Linked DNA regions of Homo sapiens: regions 1, 2, 3 and 4 are each linked to region 5. The links are contacts of gene promoters, found by promoter capture Hi-C in blood cells and fetal thymus (Javierre and others, 2016). All regions are on one chromosome and are shown on one strand. The core of a region is centred on a gene start or on the middle of the fragment in contact, and the rest is flanking DNA. Distances in the headings are between cores, read along the strand shown.

Region 1 (2,700 bases), core at 20-2,519, 1.0 Mb before region 5:
CAGAAGATGTTTGCAACACAATTTGAGGTTAGGTATTGTGGTGTGTCTGGCTTAGGAGATGGATAATTACAGAGGATTTATTTCACAACTGTTCCAAATCAAGAGCATTTAGAGCTCTGTGCAATGCTTGTCTTTAATACACAGATATGGACCCTCAGGAAAAGTAAGCTAATGGTAAACAAAAACCAGGGAGTTAATATCTGCTCTCATTGGTATTATTGATTGCCTAACAAATCCTTTGTGGGATTCAACAGTTCTTTACAGTACATGGGCACTAAGTTACATAACTCTTTAAGTAACTAGTATGGTAAATTGGTACTTTGACCAGGAAGTTTTACCAAGTGATAGTGTTATATTTCTAATGGAACATTTCCCTGAATTAAAAACAGGTTTGGGCCAGGCATGGTGGCTCACGCCTGTAATCTCAGCACTTTGGGAGGCTGAGGCGGGTGGATCACCTGAGGTCAGGAGTTCGAGACCAGCCTGGCCAACATGGTGAAACCCCATCTGTACTAAAAATATAAAAAATTAGCTGGGTGTGGTGGTGGGTGCCTGTAATCCCAGCTACTCAGGAGTCTGAGGCAGGAGAATTGCTTGAACCTGAGAGGCAGAGGTTGCAGTGAGCCGAGATCATGCCACTGTGCTCCAGCCTGGGCAACAAGAGTGAAACTCCATCTCAAATAATAATAATAATAAAATAAAAAATAAAATAAAAAAGAACAAACATTAAGACAGCCCACAGAAAAGAAAAACAACATGTAAGGCTTATAGCCCTTTTGTCTTTTTGATCATAGACAGGAGGAGCTGTTGCTGATGCAGAGGTAAGGGTTAACATTTAAAATGGACTGGTTGCCTCCTGATTTCTTGCACATAAAGCCATGAGAAGTTCAGGGAGAGACTTCTTCCCCTAGTAATGAAGCTCTCTACTGCTAATGGCCCATGCAGACTCCCTTGGCTCCTCCAAATTAGAAATACTTTTGTGCTCCTTTGCTTCATTAACAGTAAAGAGTGGGAGATTGGTGGCTATTTAGGGCATGGGGAAATTGGTGGCTATTTAGGGCAAGTGAAAATTGTAGTAATTATTGTTGGTAAGTTCTCTTCATGGTGTTTTTTGGACTCTTGATGTTCTTTTGGTGCTTTTCAGAAGACCCCTCCATGGTCAATTCTGGCATTTGGCCTAGGAGGACAGGAGATGACCTGACTGAATTTTTGGCCCCTGGTGATGGTCAGTACAAGCCATCTTGCCTGATGGGAGATGGGTCTTTTGCTTTTTGAGTTGCTTTTCAGAGTGGAAAGCATATCTGAATGCTTACCATATGACCCTCTCTCCTATCAGCTGTGATAAAAGTGTAGTATATATGATAACCTCCTTCTCTACCTGTATTGCACTACAGAAAGCTGGTGCTGCACATGAGTGCCTATGAAATTGCATCCCTAATAAACCTTGGTTGAGATGGGTGAGGGGAGCTTGATAGACTCAAGGCTCTGAGAGAATGAGCAGTGCATGAAGGAGAAATAAGAAAGTAATTTAGGATCACAGTGTGCTATGGTATGTCTCTGGTTGGCCAAGGAGTTTGCATCAGATTATTGGATTCTGACTAGAAGGAGAAGAACCTCAAAAGGAAGGTGCAATGTTTCCAAAGACAAATAGAACCAAATTATTGCTAGCATTTAGCAGTTTGACACTATTTGAAGAGGGACCACATTTGTATGGGCCTTCAGAAACTGGGGAGATTATCTGAAAAATGCTTCCTTCAATAATTGAAATTGTAATCTACAGAAACTGAGTCAGGGGAAATAACATCCTAAAAATTGGTCTGTAAATGTGGTGTTAATTGAAATTTGACGAGCAATTAAGTCCAGTTAAGGTGACCAGGGGAATTCTTGGGACCACATTGCTGGAATTAAAAAATATTTCTGGAAATATCTACCCAATTGATTATACTATCACATATTGAGGTAATTTTTTTTTTTTTTTTTTGGGACGGAATCTCGCTCTGTTGCCCAGGCTGGAGTGCAGTGGCGCGATTTCTGCTCACTACAGGCTCTGCCTCCCAGGTTCACGCCATTCTCCTGCCTCAGCCTCCCGAGTAGCTGGGACTACAGGCGCATGCTGCCACGCCCAGCTAATTTTTTGTATTTTTAGTACAGACGGGGTTTCACCGTGTTAGCCAGGATGGTCTCGATCTCCTGATCTCATGATCCACCCGCCTCGGCGTCCCAAAGTGCTGGGATTACAGGCATAAGCCACCGCTCCCGGCCGAGGTAATTTTTTTTAATGATCAACGTGGTATGCATGAGAAGATAGGTGAGGCAGGAGGAATTAAATGTGAACAGATGGATGCTTTTGAACAGAGATCTTCTTTTGGTTTGTAGTTAAAACTATTTTTAAAAAGTGGTTTAATTGACAGCACTTGACTAGGATTGCAGAAATATGAGTTTTCAAGGAAATCATAGCATTTTCCTAGACCAGAGACCATTATTAGTGCACATTGCTTGTGTGTGCCTAGGAGAGGTTTTCTGACCACTGACTATGTTTGTCCTCTTGGCAAATATCCTACTGATATGGGGTTGATTGTATCAAGCTCTAATAACTTAGGATCACCCAACTGCTGATTTCTTTTGAAAATAAGTTTGCAGGAAATCTCTTGACCCTCATGTGATTTTTCTAGGTAGACTTCCAAGTTGGGGAGAAATGTT
Region 2 (2,700 bases), core at 97-2,596, 1.0 Mb before region 5:
TTGGCTGTATGGAGCCTCTCTAACGATCCTCTCGGCATCCCAGCCGCCACCCTTCAATCAAAAATCATTAAATGGGGCAGAGATAATGAGCATGTAGCATATCAAAAGAAGGATGTTTGCTTGGTCCAAAGGAGGAAAAGCTGCTTGGCCCCACGCTCAGCTCCACTTCAAAGGGAGATGAGACCTCTCAACACTGGGGCCTGATAATGCCTCATTTGTTCTTGGCTTGACTTATGCAAAAGGTCTGGTATGTCAGAGTCCAGTCTCACAGACGTGGGTTTCCCCCACCTCTTGCCTCCACCTCCACCAGCCCCCTCCCTGGCCTTCTGCACACTCCTGTGTCAGCACTTAGGCAGCTGGGTCCCCCAAAGCATCAGAGGGAGCGTATAATCACTGACTTTCCACTCACAATGGCCACTTGTAGGGGGGTGGCCAGGAGGAGGTCTTCATCACAATAGGAACACAATTATTGCAGCTGCTAGGGAGGGCTATGCTTCTTCCTGTAGAAATAGAATAGGACTTGCCCAAAACAGGAGGAGAAGATTGGAGGGAGGCGGGGGGAGGTTGAGAAGGGTGGAGAAAACAATCTTGAGTTGATTATTCATAATCTGACTCTTGGAAGCCCGATGCAGAGTCAGTGGGGTTCCAGCAGCTGCTCGCACACAGCCTTCTTCTAATAATTGTACATTCTGTCAGGGGTCAACTTACTTTTGACCCTGTCCTTTTATATTGGTAAAAGGCTCTTTAGGGCAAACTGTTGGGTTGTGGCAGGGTGCATTAAACACAGCCCCTTCCCCTAGCTTGATCCCCCTCCCGACCAGCAGCCGGTGATAAATTCATATCAGATGCTGTGCCATTCACAGTTGCCCTCCCGAGTTCACACAGCCCCCACTCATGGAGCAGAGATGCAGCCGAGCTGGGACATTGTGTGAGGCGGCAGCTGAGAAGGTCTGCCTGTAAGGCTGAGGCTCCTGCTGCACCACCACCTTCTGATCTGACTGAGAAAAAAAGGACATGTCTAGCCAGGCTGGCCAACACTTGTGTCCAAATGTCCGCCTCACCACGAATAAAGGGCAAGAGGGCTGTGCATGGAAAGGCAGATGGACTTTATTGTGTGTGCCAAGTTGCCTAGAAGAACTCAGGTCTGTCTCATCACAAAGATGGGTCAGAAAAGATGCTGTTAATTTGGGAGAGCCTAAAAAATCAGGAGTGCTTTCCTGGGTTGGAGCCTAGGCTCCTGATCCTGTCTACCACTGCCCAGGTTTCCTTTCCTCAATGCAACAAGGGCCCTGGAGCCAAGCAGGCTGCTTGCATAAATCTTCTCTTCTTCAGCTGGCCTAGAAGACTGCCTGCAAATCCTGGAAAATAATTCCTTTAGGATCTAAGGAGGAGAGTGGCGTCAGCTGGCTCCTGTGACCTCTTGGGGAAGATTTTGTAGGCAGAGCGGAATCAGAATCTTTTTGCAACTCTGCAGCCATTCCCATGCTGAGCCCCTCTAAGGCAATCCACAGCATTCTAGTTAATAAATTAATTTACATTCTTATGAAAAACTCATTCCCAAAGATCCCCAAGGATTTTTACCAGTATGTAGAGAATTGACTTCAGGGAACTGCACTAACCTTTATGGCAAAAATATAGATAACAGAACAGAGGCTGGGGATGTGAAAAGGGATTTTGCCTCTTGGTTGGAAACAACTCCAAAAGGAAAAGGCAGGAAGAGAAGGAGAAAAGGAAGGAAAGGAGAGGAGAGGAGAGAAGAGGAGAGGAGGAGAAAGGAAAGGGAAGGAAACTTAGAATCAAATACATCTTTTAGGAATCACTCAGGTTAAGGAGTTAATGCTCCGCAATGCTGAGTTGCTAGCCTTAATTCACACAGGTCATAGGTGGTGCAACCAGTATTCAAATAGCTTTTCTGACTCTAGGTTCAGTGCTTTTTCTAGTATACCATCTTTTCTTTTTTTAAATCTGAGCTTATATACCTAACCTTTTAAACCAACTCTTCTTCTTTCAATTTATAAGAAAAAACAATACTTAGTTAACACTGTGCTTCCTGAACTTTAGATATTTTAGTACCATTTTCATAATTGTGTCATATCCTTATACCTCTTGTCTGATTATTTACTTAATATTTTTCTTAAATCAATTTCTACACTGTCTTATTTTTAAAACCTAACTTTTCTTAATAATATCCATGAAATCATGGGTTTAATGGGTTAGTTGTTTTTTTCTAAAATACTTTACAATGTATAGATACTAAAATGAAACTTTTTATGCCTCTAAAGTAACCATTGTGCATTTAACATCTTGGGAATATGATTTGGTCTGTAAGGGTTTGGTATAATTGATAAAAAGTACGAATTGTGAAGTAAGGATCTTTTCCATCTGGGTCTCGCTCTTTACTTGGTAAGAACACCTGCTCCTGAGAACAAACAATATTTTAAGAGTGTAGTATGAGAAAATTTGTTTAGTTCCTTACATTTGTGTTTTTTTGCCTCCTGTGTAAACAGCTGAAATGCTTATTCCCAGGACCCTCCTGAGAGATTCAGGCTGTGTAGGTCTGTGGCAGGGTCTGGGAAATCACAAATACCTCCACAGAAGTATGAAAAACATTGCTCTGAGTCAGAATAACAATTGTTATTCTTCTCTGAGTTAATTAAGAAGGTTTAATTGAGCTAACTTTCAGGATTGTGGCTAATGCAG
Region 3 (2,700 bases), core at 106-2,605, 1.1 Mb before region 5:
GCTTGATTAATTAGTAGCCAGCCAGAGAGTCCATTCCCTTTGCCCCCAATCCTTAAAGCCTGATTTATGCCTCACATCCCCCATGAATATGTGAGGGCTCAGGCATCTATTTCCTGAGCTGCTAGTGGATAGGATTATGGAGCGTGGACTAAGCTCTTGGGGGCTCTCGTTTGCCAGCCAAATTGATTTTCCGCCTCTCTGGCTGGGGACAAGCCCACCTCGAAGGCTTCCCAGGCTCTGCTCCAGTGGATCAGGCACAAGTCTAATCCGGATCTTGCCAACAAAGGAAGCTGTGTCCATCCGTGTCACAATGCAGGTTTCTTTGGGCTGTGGGTGCCTTCTCTAAATGCTCCTCTTTCCTCCTCTTCCTCACCTTCTCCTGGCTCCTGCTCCCAGAGCAGCACAGTGCAGTAAGGTACAGGGATATACTCCAACTCTGCCCAGATCACTCAGCCAGCTCTCCTTACCCAGGCAGAGCAGGATTTGTCCATCTTGAATGGATGATTCCTTTTCTCCAGGGAAAGGGAATTCCACAGGCTTCCTCGACTATCCATTTGACTATTTAATAATTGAAAGGTAAGAATATATAGGCTGCTAAATTTTTTAAGAAAAAATGGTGAATTGGGGGTTAATCAATGTAGGCAAGTAAATTAGTTTACATCTAAAAATTTAGATAGTTCAAGCTTTGAGTAAATGAATTATCTAGCTTGGTGATACAGATTAATCTAATGAATTGGGGTTCTCAGATCCCTCCCTGGTCTTGCCTCCATTTACCTCTCATTTTTCCTCTGTTTAAAAATAGAATCACTCTCCCTGGGTTTATTTTATCACCTGACATTCACATCCTAACTCTGTACATGCTGGCTGTGCACCTTTTCTCTCTTGATCTTCCTAAAAATGGCATTAAGGGTTTGACACACTCATCTACCTCTTTAACAGTTCTTAAGGCTCTTCGTTGAGCCTATGTCTACAACCTTATGATCCTTCTAACTCACCTAATTCTTTGATCTGCTCTCAAGAATCTTGTTTCTTATTCTAGCCTTTAAATGTTGATGGTTGACAGTTGTTTCCCTACCTTTACCCACCTTACCTTTCTTCTGTTCTTACTCTACATGTCCTCCCTGGGAGACCTCATTTACTTTGATAATTTCAACTCCTCGTTATTCAACAAGTATTGAGTGATCACTTAACACGTTCCCCATGTTCCAGGCACAGGGACTATGGCTGTGAACAAAACAGGCCAAAATCTTGCTCTCATGGTGTTTACTTCTAGAAGGAAAACAGTCAATAAACAAAATAAGAAAATTATAGTTTTTGTTAAATTTGCTTAGTACCATGGAGAAAAATGCAGCAGGAGAGGTGAATAGGGAATACACATTGGAGGTGGTAGTTGGGGATATTGGCACACAGCGATAGCAAATGTTGTGAGGCAAGGGAGCAAAAAGGAGTATTGGAACAAGGGGGAGAGCAGAGGCAGATGGGGCCAGAGAGAACCAACGCTGTAAGGTTTGATAGGCTTTGACTCTAAATATGATGGGAGCCATTGAAGAATTTTGGCAGAGAGGTAACACGATATGGTTCACATGAAAAGAAGGAATGACAACACTGAGTGTTGTTTTGAGAATTAACCCTGAGGTAGAGGATAAGGGCAGAAACAGGGAGCTAAGTTAAGATGCTGTTACAATAATCCATGGGTGAGATGAGAGTGACTTGGACCCCAGAAGTAGATGTGGAGGTGGTAAGTGGTTGGGTTATAGGGGACGTTTTGAAGGTGGAATGCATACAATTTCCTGAAGTATTGATTATGGAGTGAGAGACAGTGAAAGTTAACTCTGTGATTTTCAGACTTAGCAATTGCAAGGATGAAGTTACCATTCATGGAATGGGAAGGACTGAGGGAAGATCTGTGGGGCAAGACAAGGAAAGGAGTTCATGGATACTCATAGTTAAGAAACTATGAGACATCCAAGTAGAGATGTTGAGTAGGCAGTTGGGTATGTGAATCTTGAGCTGAGGGCACAAGCTTGGAGATATAAATTTGAGAGTCATTGACAATTAGCGTGCGATGGTGTTTAAAACCTTAAGACAAGATGGGACAACTGGCATGGTCTACAGAGACTGATAAGAAACGTGTTTAGAGGGCTGAGGCTTGGGACCCACCAAGTGTCAGTGGTTGGGATGATCAGGAGGAATCAGGCAGAAGAGGCTGAGAAGAGGATGCCTAAGAAGTAAGAGGAAAACCAGCTGGGTTTGTACCCAACCTACTTAATTAGAAAAGTCCCATGTGCTCACTGTCATTGAGTCAATAGGGAGCTTTCTTAGTATTTGCTAAAAATGAAGACATGAAATTAGATACCAGGTGAAGGAAAGACAAAGGTTCTAAATAGAAGAGTTTATTCTTCTGTTCTTTTATGAGTTACTAGCACTTTTGCATTTTATGAGGTTTTCTTTAGCGATTCAATACAATGTATAGAATATAGCACATGATGAAAATTTGATAGAAGTATAGAAACATTGGATTTTTTAAATAGAGATGAGAAAATGAAAGAAAGAAAAACAAAGAGGCTGGGCAAGTGAGGAGAGGGAGTTTTAGGAAAGAAGTGACCAAGTTGTCAAATGCTGCTGGTCACTCGGGAAGGGTGAGGACTGAGCATTGAGCCTGAGATTCACCAATGTGGTTGCCATCTGTGGCCTTGAGAG
Region 4 (2,700 bases), core at 145-2,644, 1.1 Mb before region 5:
AGATGAGGACAGGTTCTGAGTTGCTGGTGGAGTTCAGATTGTTTAGTAACTTCTGTCAGCTGCTCACTTTGATGCGTTAATATGACTAAAGGGTCTCAGGATTCCTCCTGAGTGGCAGTCTGGGGTTTGGGTAGCTGTAGTCAATAAGGAAATTTCACTCTTGCCTTTTGCTTTCATCACTCTGTCTGCCAATCCAGGTTCACCACTCCAAACTGAGTGCCAATCACTTGTCACTTTTCAAGTGGGTTGCTGTCAGCCTGGGCAACTTAAATTTTTGACAACGTAATTACGGCTCTTGCTTCCACAGTGGGAATCTGAGCAGGATGGTGGAGCTTTTATTGATTGTTCAGCAGGGAAATTTATCAATGTCTCTCACTTCATTTCCAGTTTCTCCCTGAGAAATTTGGCTGACAGTTTCTTAGGAGAAAAACAGTCTCATGGCCTTGGCTGGACTTCTGTCTTTGTCCTTTTCAAGAAATTACAAGATATAGGCATTAAATATACATGGAAATTCCTGAGAAAAAGCAGTATGTGGGGCATGATTGAAGAAAGCACGAGTGCAATTGCAAGGAACATAAGAATTTGGTAGGAATAAATAAAAGCAGTGGTCTAAATAAGCAAGCTTAGATATGGTTTGTTTTCCTTCTGAAAATGCCAAGTGTCTGCATGTAAATTCCATGGTTGCTATGAGTACTGTGTAATATGCACTATTTTCATAGTTGCTAGAGTATCAGGCTGTCTTTAAGCATGGTATAAAGTGTGTGGAACAGGCACATGTGTGGGAGTGTGTTTCCGGTCAGTGGTTTTCACATTGTGCTCCACAAAATCCAAATGTTTCCTGGAGGGGATTTAGGGGTTCCCTAAACAATGAATATTGGAGGTCAAGTAATAAAGGTTTAAATTGCTCAAGTAATTGATTTATTGCTTTTATCTGTTATATATTTGTGTTCAAAGTAACAGTTTGTTAGAAGAAAGAGTTCCACTGTTAAAACTGTGATTAAAAAACTCTACTAGGTCATTCTTTTAGCTGTGGTGTATGGATCCTTTTGAGGTGTCCAGGGCCTCTCTGCATGATTCCTGTTTCCCCAAGACTGATTTAGCTCTGGGACATTTTCTATAAAGTCTGTTCTTTGATGTAGGGTGAAACTTTCTAGAGCCCATTTTCATGTCATAACAGTTCCTCTTATCCAACAATATATTTTTAAATCTCCACTCTCTCGTCACCTGATTAATAGTCTCCAATGCTGTCTCCTCTTGCCCCTTTCCTTACCTATTTCTTCTAGACCAAGACTCCTCCCTTTTCTTCTGTCTCTCGTTCCCTTGAGCTAGATACAAACCAGAGCTATGACATGGCATTTTTATATGTAGCTTTATTACTCTGAAATTGTTTGGTTTTAGGGGACAGAAGCCCACTGGAAACAAACTTAGAACCAAGGATTTATGAATTCTTGTAATCAAAACGCAGGATGGAGAGAAAGACAATGGCCTTAGACGTGACTGTCTTCAAGGGTCCGAATGTCCACAGGACTCACCCCTCAGTCCCTTACCCTGGCTGTCTCTGCATGTATTGACTTCACTCTCTCCTACTCCTTATTGCTGCCTTCTCTATGGTTATTGGGACTTCCTGATTTCATGTGGACTTTGATTTTCTACTACCAAAGAAAGGAACACTGTATTCTTTTCAAAAAATAACCAGGGGAGGCCTCCCAAAGTCCGCTAGAGTTACTTAGCAGACTAAGGACTATACATGGTGCCCAGGGGGAAAGTGCACTCTGACTGTCCAAGCTCAAGCCACATTTTCACTTCTGCTTTCCCCTTGCATTTATCACCACAAAATATTACCTGTGATTTCATGGGAAACTTGAGCTGATGTGGTGTGTAAATTTGCCACAGGCCTGAGCAAATGCAACCGACACAATTTTAGGGATGTTTGGTAGATGCAAACCTTTCAGACAGAAGTCTGACTCAGAATAGATTTTATTTTTCTTTAGTCACTACCTTCGTCTGTATTCTGATGGATCCTTTTTCTTGTCCTTTAAAAACACCTTGGTTACCAATAGCTTTCCAGTTGATTTCAGATATTGAAAATGCCAGTCCTGATTAATCTAGTTTAAAAACTCAGTCTCCTATTCATTTAATGTTACCTTCCTCACCCACAAAGCTTCAACTTGAGGCACTTGGGATGGTAGGGTCTGCTCCCTCACTCTTCCTCTAATCCTTCTTATTTCATATTGTCAGTATGGGGCAGGTGGAAGAGGTAAGGTGAGAGGTTTAACAAGCTTAATACTTAACGGTGCACCTATATCCTCTGTTGGGTGTTGCTCTCTCTCTGAATAATAATTGCTGACTATTGAGTCTCCCTCCTAAGATGCCTGCATGAAATCACTGGAGTCTTGTAGGAGGCTTTTCCACTGCACAGTTTCTCAATGTGGAAGCCCCACTTGGGTTTTCAATCCGTTAGCATCCACCTTGGGGGTTGGTCTTGGTGGAGTACTAGAAAGTTGGTTCAAGCCAAGCTATCTTCCCTACAATTCAGCTATCCAGAGGAAACTTACAAATCCACATGAAAGATGTTTCACTTATCACCCCTTTCTCTGCTCTGCTCTTTCTCTAATTGTTTCCCCTGCTTAGATAAGCATGAGCAGCTGAGCAAATAGGCTGCATATGCAGACATTCCACCTGGGAAAAGAAGCCAGTCTC
Region 5 (2,700 bases), core at 86-2,585:
GCATCCCTCCACCTTTCGTCTGACCTAGCGGCCCGCGCCCGCCACCCGGGAGTCTGCTTCTCTTCCTTCCTTTTCTCTCCAACTTTTCCTCTTAGCAATCTCCATGGCCCGCTTCGCCCGCCTCGACTTCCCTCCTTTTCTAAATCCGCTTCGCCTTTCCGAAGTTTTTATTTCCAACCTCGACGTCTCAGCAGAACCTTCCCTTCCTCCCTTCCCCTGGCAACCACCTGGGGCTGTCCCAGACCATTCCGCTTAAAAGCGAGGCTCCGCGGGCTTCCCGGTCCCCAGCCTGGCCCGCCGCGCGCCCCGCGCCTCGCCCGCCTCGGCCGCCTCTCCCACCTCGCCCGCCTCTCCCACCTCGCCCGCCTCGGCCGCCTCGTCCGCCTAGTCCGCCTCGCCCGCGAGTAGCGGAGCCGTCTGGCCGCGTCAGCCCTCGCCCGAGCCGGAAAAGGGCTTTGGCGAGCGCGGTCCGGGCCCCGGAGGCGGCTGGCGTCCTCCTGGCTGGGCGCAACTTCTCCTGCCCCGAAGAGTTGAGCTAGCCTCAGTGCTAGAGACCCGTACGCATTGAACGTGGGCAGAAATTTCCGTGAAAGATGCCCACACAGGAGGCGGCTGCGATTTCTGTTCGGACGCAGTGACCCTCAAGGAAGCAAAACACAAGAAAACAGAAACTAATAAACTGCTACGACTTCTATTTTGCTCTATCCATCCATATCTCCAGCCATCTACTTCTTTCCCGCTAATTCTCTGTCCTCTACTTGGAACCATTTGTTATCAATTTCAGAAATTTTATTGAAAATAAAAATTAAAAGCCCGAGTCTGTTACAAATGAGGCTTGAAAACCCAATTCTCTTCCACACTTAAAACGAGAAAAGCCCCTGACTTTATCAGAATCTCGATTTTCTCTGAGAGCGTGCCCACATTCAGTAGCACCACATTCCCCATCAGAGCTTAAAAGGGTGGGGTGGGGTGGGGGGAGGCGAGGAAAAGGGAAAGAAAAATAAAATAAATAAAAACATTCCTAAATTAAAGTTGTCAGATTTCAGCCTTAAAGTCCCTTTTCAGAGCAGCGAAGTCTTCCCTAGCCAGCTTTTCTAAAAGTTAAAAAAAGCTGAGAAAACCGACCGGAAATCTACGAGTAAATAGCTTAAAAATATATATCATTTGGGGTATCAAGAAGCTCAAATTCTCTATCTGCAAAGCTCTAAGGTGCATCTGGGGGTGTCGACTCACCTCATAGATATCTTCGTACTTGACATTCTCCACAAGCTTCCAGAGCATGATGGCAGCCTGGTCTCTAGGAGGTGAGTGCATTCATGTGAGGAGCAGATGTCTGGCTTCTCAGGACTCCGCTGTCTGTAATGATCCATCTATAATTGGAAATGGGGGATACACACCAAATCCGACGCTCCTCTCCCATCGCAACTTATATCTGTTGTCTCAAACAATAGGCTGGACAAGTAAGCCTCAGCAAAGAGAAAAAACATTATTGCACACACAGGAGTTAGATGCAACCCACAGACATATATACTATAAAAATCATAAACCCGTATTTACACCCAGACACCCACATATAGTTATATAAGCACCTCTGGGTCACACAGTCTGCAGACTCCAAATGTGCATTTAACAAAGAGTTGTTCAGGGTGATTAATATAATATATACATTTTATAACTTCTATATCGAAAATGACACATCATTGTAGCCACTAACTGAAGTCTTTGCAATTCATAATGAGAAACCAGGGGCCATCAGTCCCCTATTTTCTATGTAGATTTTAAAGGGGGACACTTACCAAGATTTTTAAACACAAAAGCTCCCTCCTATTCATGTATGTTCCGGAAGAGAGTATTTTGAAAGGCTGGATATGGGGGATTTTAAGGACTATCTCTGTGTTGATGGCTACACAACTTTTTTTTTTTTAACTTTATCTCTGTCACCATAGAACAAAAAAGCTAGCCACCGTTGATGACCATTTCTAATATTTTCTGGTCATTTTACCTAAAACCTTTGGAAACTTAAATACACCTCAGTTTGTGCTGCTTGTTATTTTAGGTGTTGTTTGTATGCATTTTCAACGGATTCCATGCACCATTCCTCTTGGCTGGAGTCTCCATTTTATCAAGTTTTTTTCAGATGTTGGAAGCAACGTACGCACACGTTCAGACAAGGTTAATTTTGAGCCTTTTTTGCAGAGGCCAAGGACATTTTATATTTGCATCTGTTGTGTATGACTTGTAAGTGGTTTTAATCATGGAGAGTCAAGAAAGGGCCACCCGAATCTTTGAAAAGGTTTAAGCAGAATGTCTTCAAAGAGATAGTGAAAAATATTTTAGTGCATGTGGAGTTTCTTCTTTTTTTTGTATAATTTTTCTTAATAAGATGATTCATATAGTTTTTAAAAAGGAAAACATCATCAGCAACAAGAACAATATTAACCAGACTTAGAAAATGGGCACCATTTAAGGCGCAGGGATTCTGAATTTTATCATGAAATGAATACTCATCTGTTCCCCTGTTCCCCCTTTCCCATCCCCTCTGTTTTTCTACTCCCTTTCAGGGTGCGGAGAGCTTCTCATAGCCGGAACAGACGCCCAGAAGAGGATCTCTGCGCCTGGGACAGAAAAGAAATGCCAGGAGGGACCGAGGAGGGATGGGGCAATTTGGGGTGGAAGTTATTAAGCCTGGTGAGAGTGAAT

What was found. Contacts are between HindIII fragments. The CHiCAGO score rates a contact against its expected background, and 5 or more counts as called.
Region 1: a fragment that was not itself captured here is called in contact with the fragment with the promoter of TFAP2B in region 5 in 5 of 17 cell types (M2 macrophages, monocytes, M0 macrophages and 2 more); the score reaches 8.2 in M2 macrophages.
Region 2: a contact is called between a fragment that was not itself captured here and the fragment with the promoter of TFAP2B in region 5, in 3 of 17 cell types (neutrophils, endothelial precursors and M0 macrophages). The highest score is 6.0, in neutrophils.
Region 3: a contact is called between a fragment that was not itself captured here and the fragment with the promoter of TFAP2B in region 5, in 7 of 17 cell types (monocytes, endothelial precursors, M2 macrophages and 4 more). The highest score is 10.0, in monocytes.
Region 4: a fragment that was not itself captured here is called in contact with the fragment with the promoter of TFAP2B in region 5 in 2 of 17 cell types (M0 macrophages and monocytes); the score reaches 5.7 in M0 macrophages.

Annotation. Positions count from the first base shown.
Region 1 is chr6:51,858,807-51,861,506 of GRCh38, reverse strand. All of the region lies in intron 48 of PKHD1 (PKHD1 ciliary IPT domain containing fibrocystin/polyductin), which reads left to right. Among named protein-coding and RNA genes, the nearest start is that of PKHD1, 230 kb to the left of the region's middle. The HindIII fragment of the contact is 3,672 bases long and covers 1-2,700 here.
Region 2 is chr6:51,840,451-51,843,150 of GRCh38, reverse strand. The region is part of intron 50 of PKHD1 (PKHD1 ciliary IPT domain containing fibrocystin/polyductin); the gene reads left to right. Among named protein-coding and RNA genes, the nearest start is that of PKHD1, 250 kb to the left of the region's middle. The HindIII fragment of the contact is 3,172 bases long and covers 1-2,700 here.
Region 3 is chr6:51,947,126-51,949,825 of GRCh38, reverse strand. The region is part of intron 36 of PKHD1 (PKHD1 ciliary IPT domain containing fibrocystin/polyductin); the gene reads left to right. Among named protein-coding and RNA genes, the nearest start is that of PKHD1, 140 kb to the left of the region's middle. The HindIII fragment of the contact is 1,340 bases long and covers 686-2,025 here.
Region 4 is chr6:51,927,643-51,930,342 of GRCh38, reverse strand. The region is part of intron 37 of PKHD1 (PKHD1 ciliary IPT domain containing fibrocystin/polyductin); the gene reads left to right. Among named protein-coding and RNA genes, the nearest start is that of PKHD1, 160 kb to the left of the region's middle. The HindIII fragment of the contact is 1,539 bases long and covers 625-2,163 here.
Region 5 is chr6:50,817,506-50,820,205 of GRCh38, reverse strand. It overlaps TFAP2B (transcription factor AP-2 beta), which reads right to left and starts at 1,335. Exons shown (of 7, transcript NM_003221.4): 1 at 1,234-1,335. The coding sequence starts at 1,314. It overlaps LOC124901490 (a long non-coding RNA gene), which reads left to right and starts at 1,180. Exons shown (of 2, transcript XR_007059923.1): 1 at 1,180-1,304; 2 at 2,562-2,700. The HindIII fragment of the contact is 1,562 bases long and covers 1,272-2,700 here.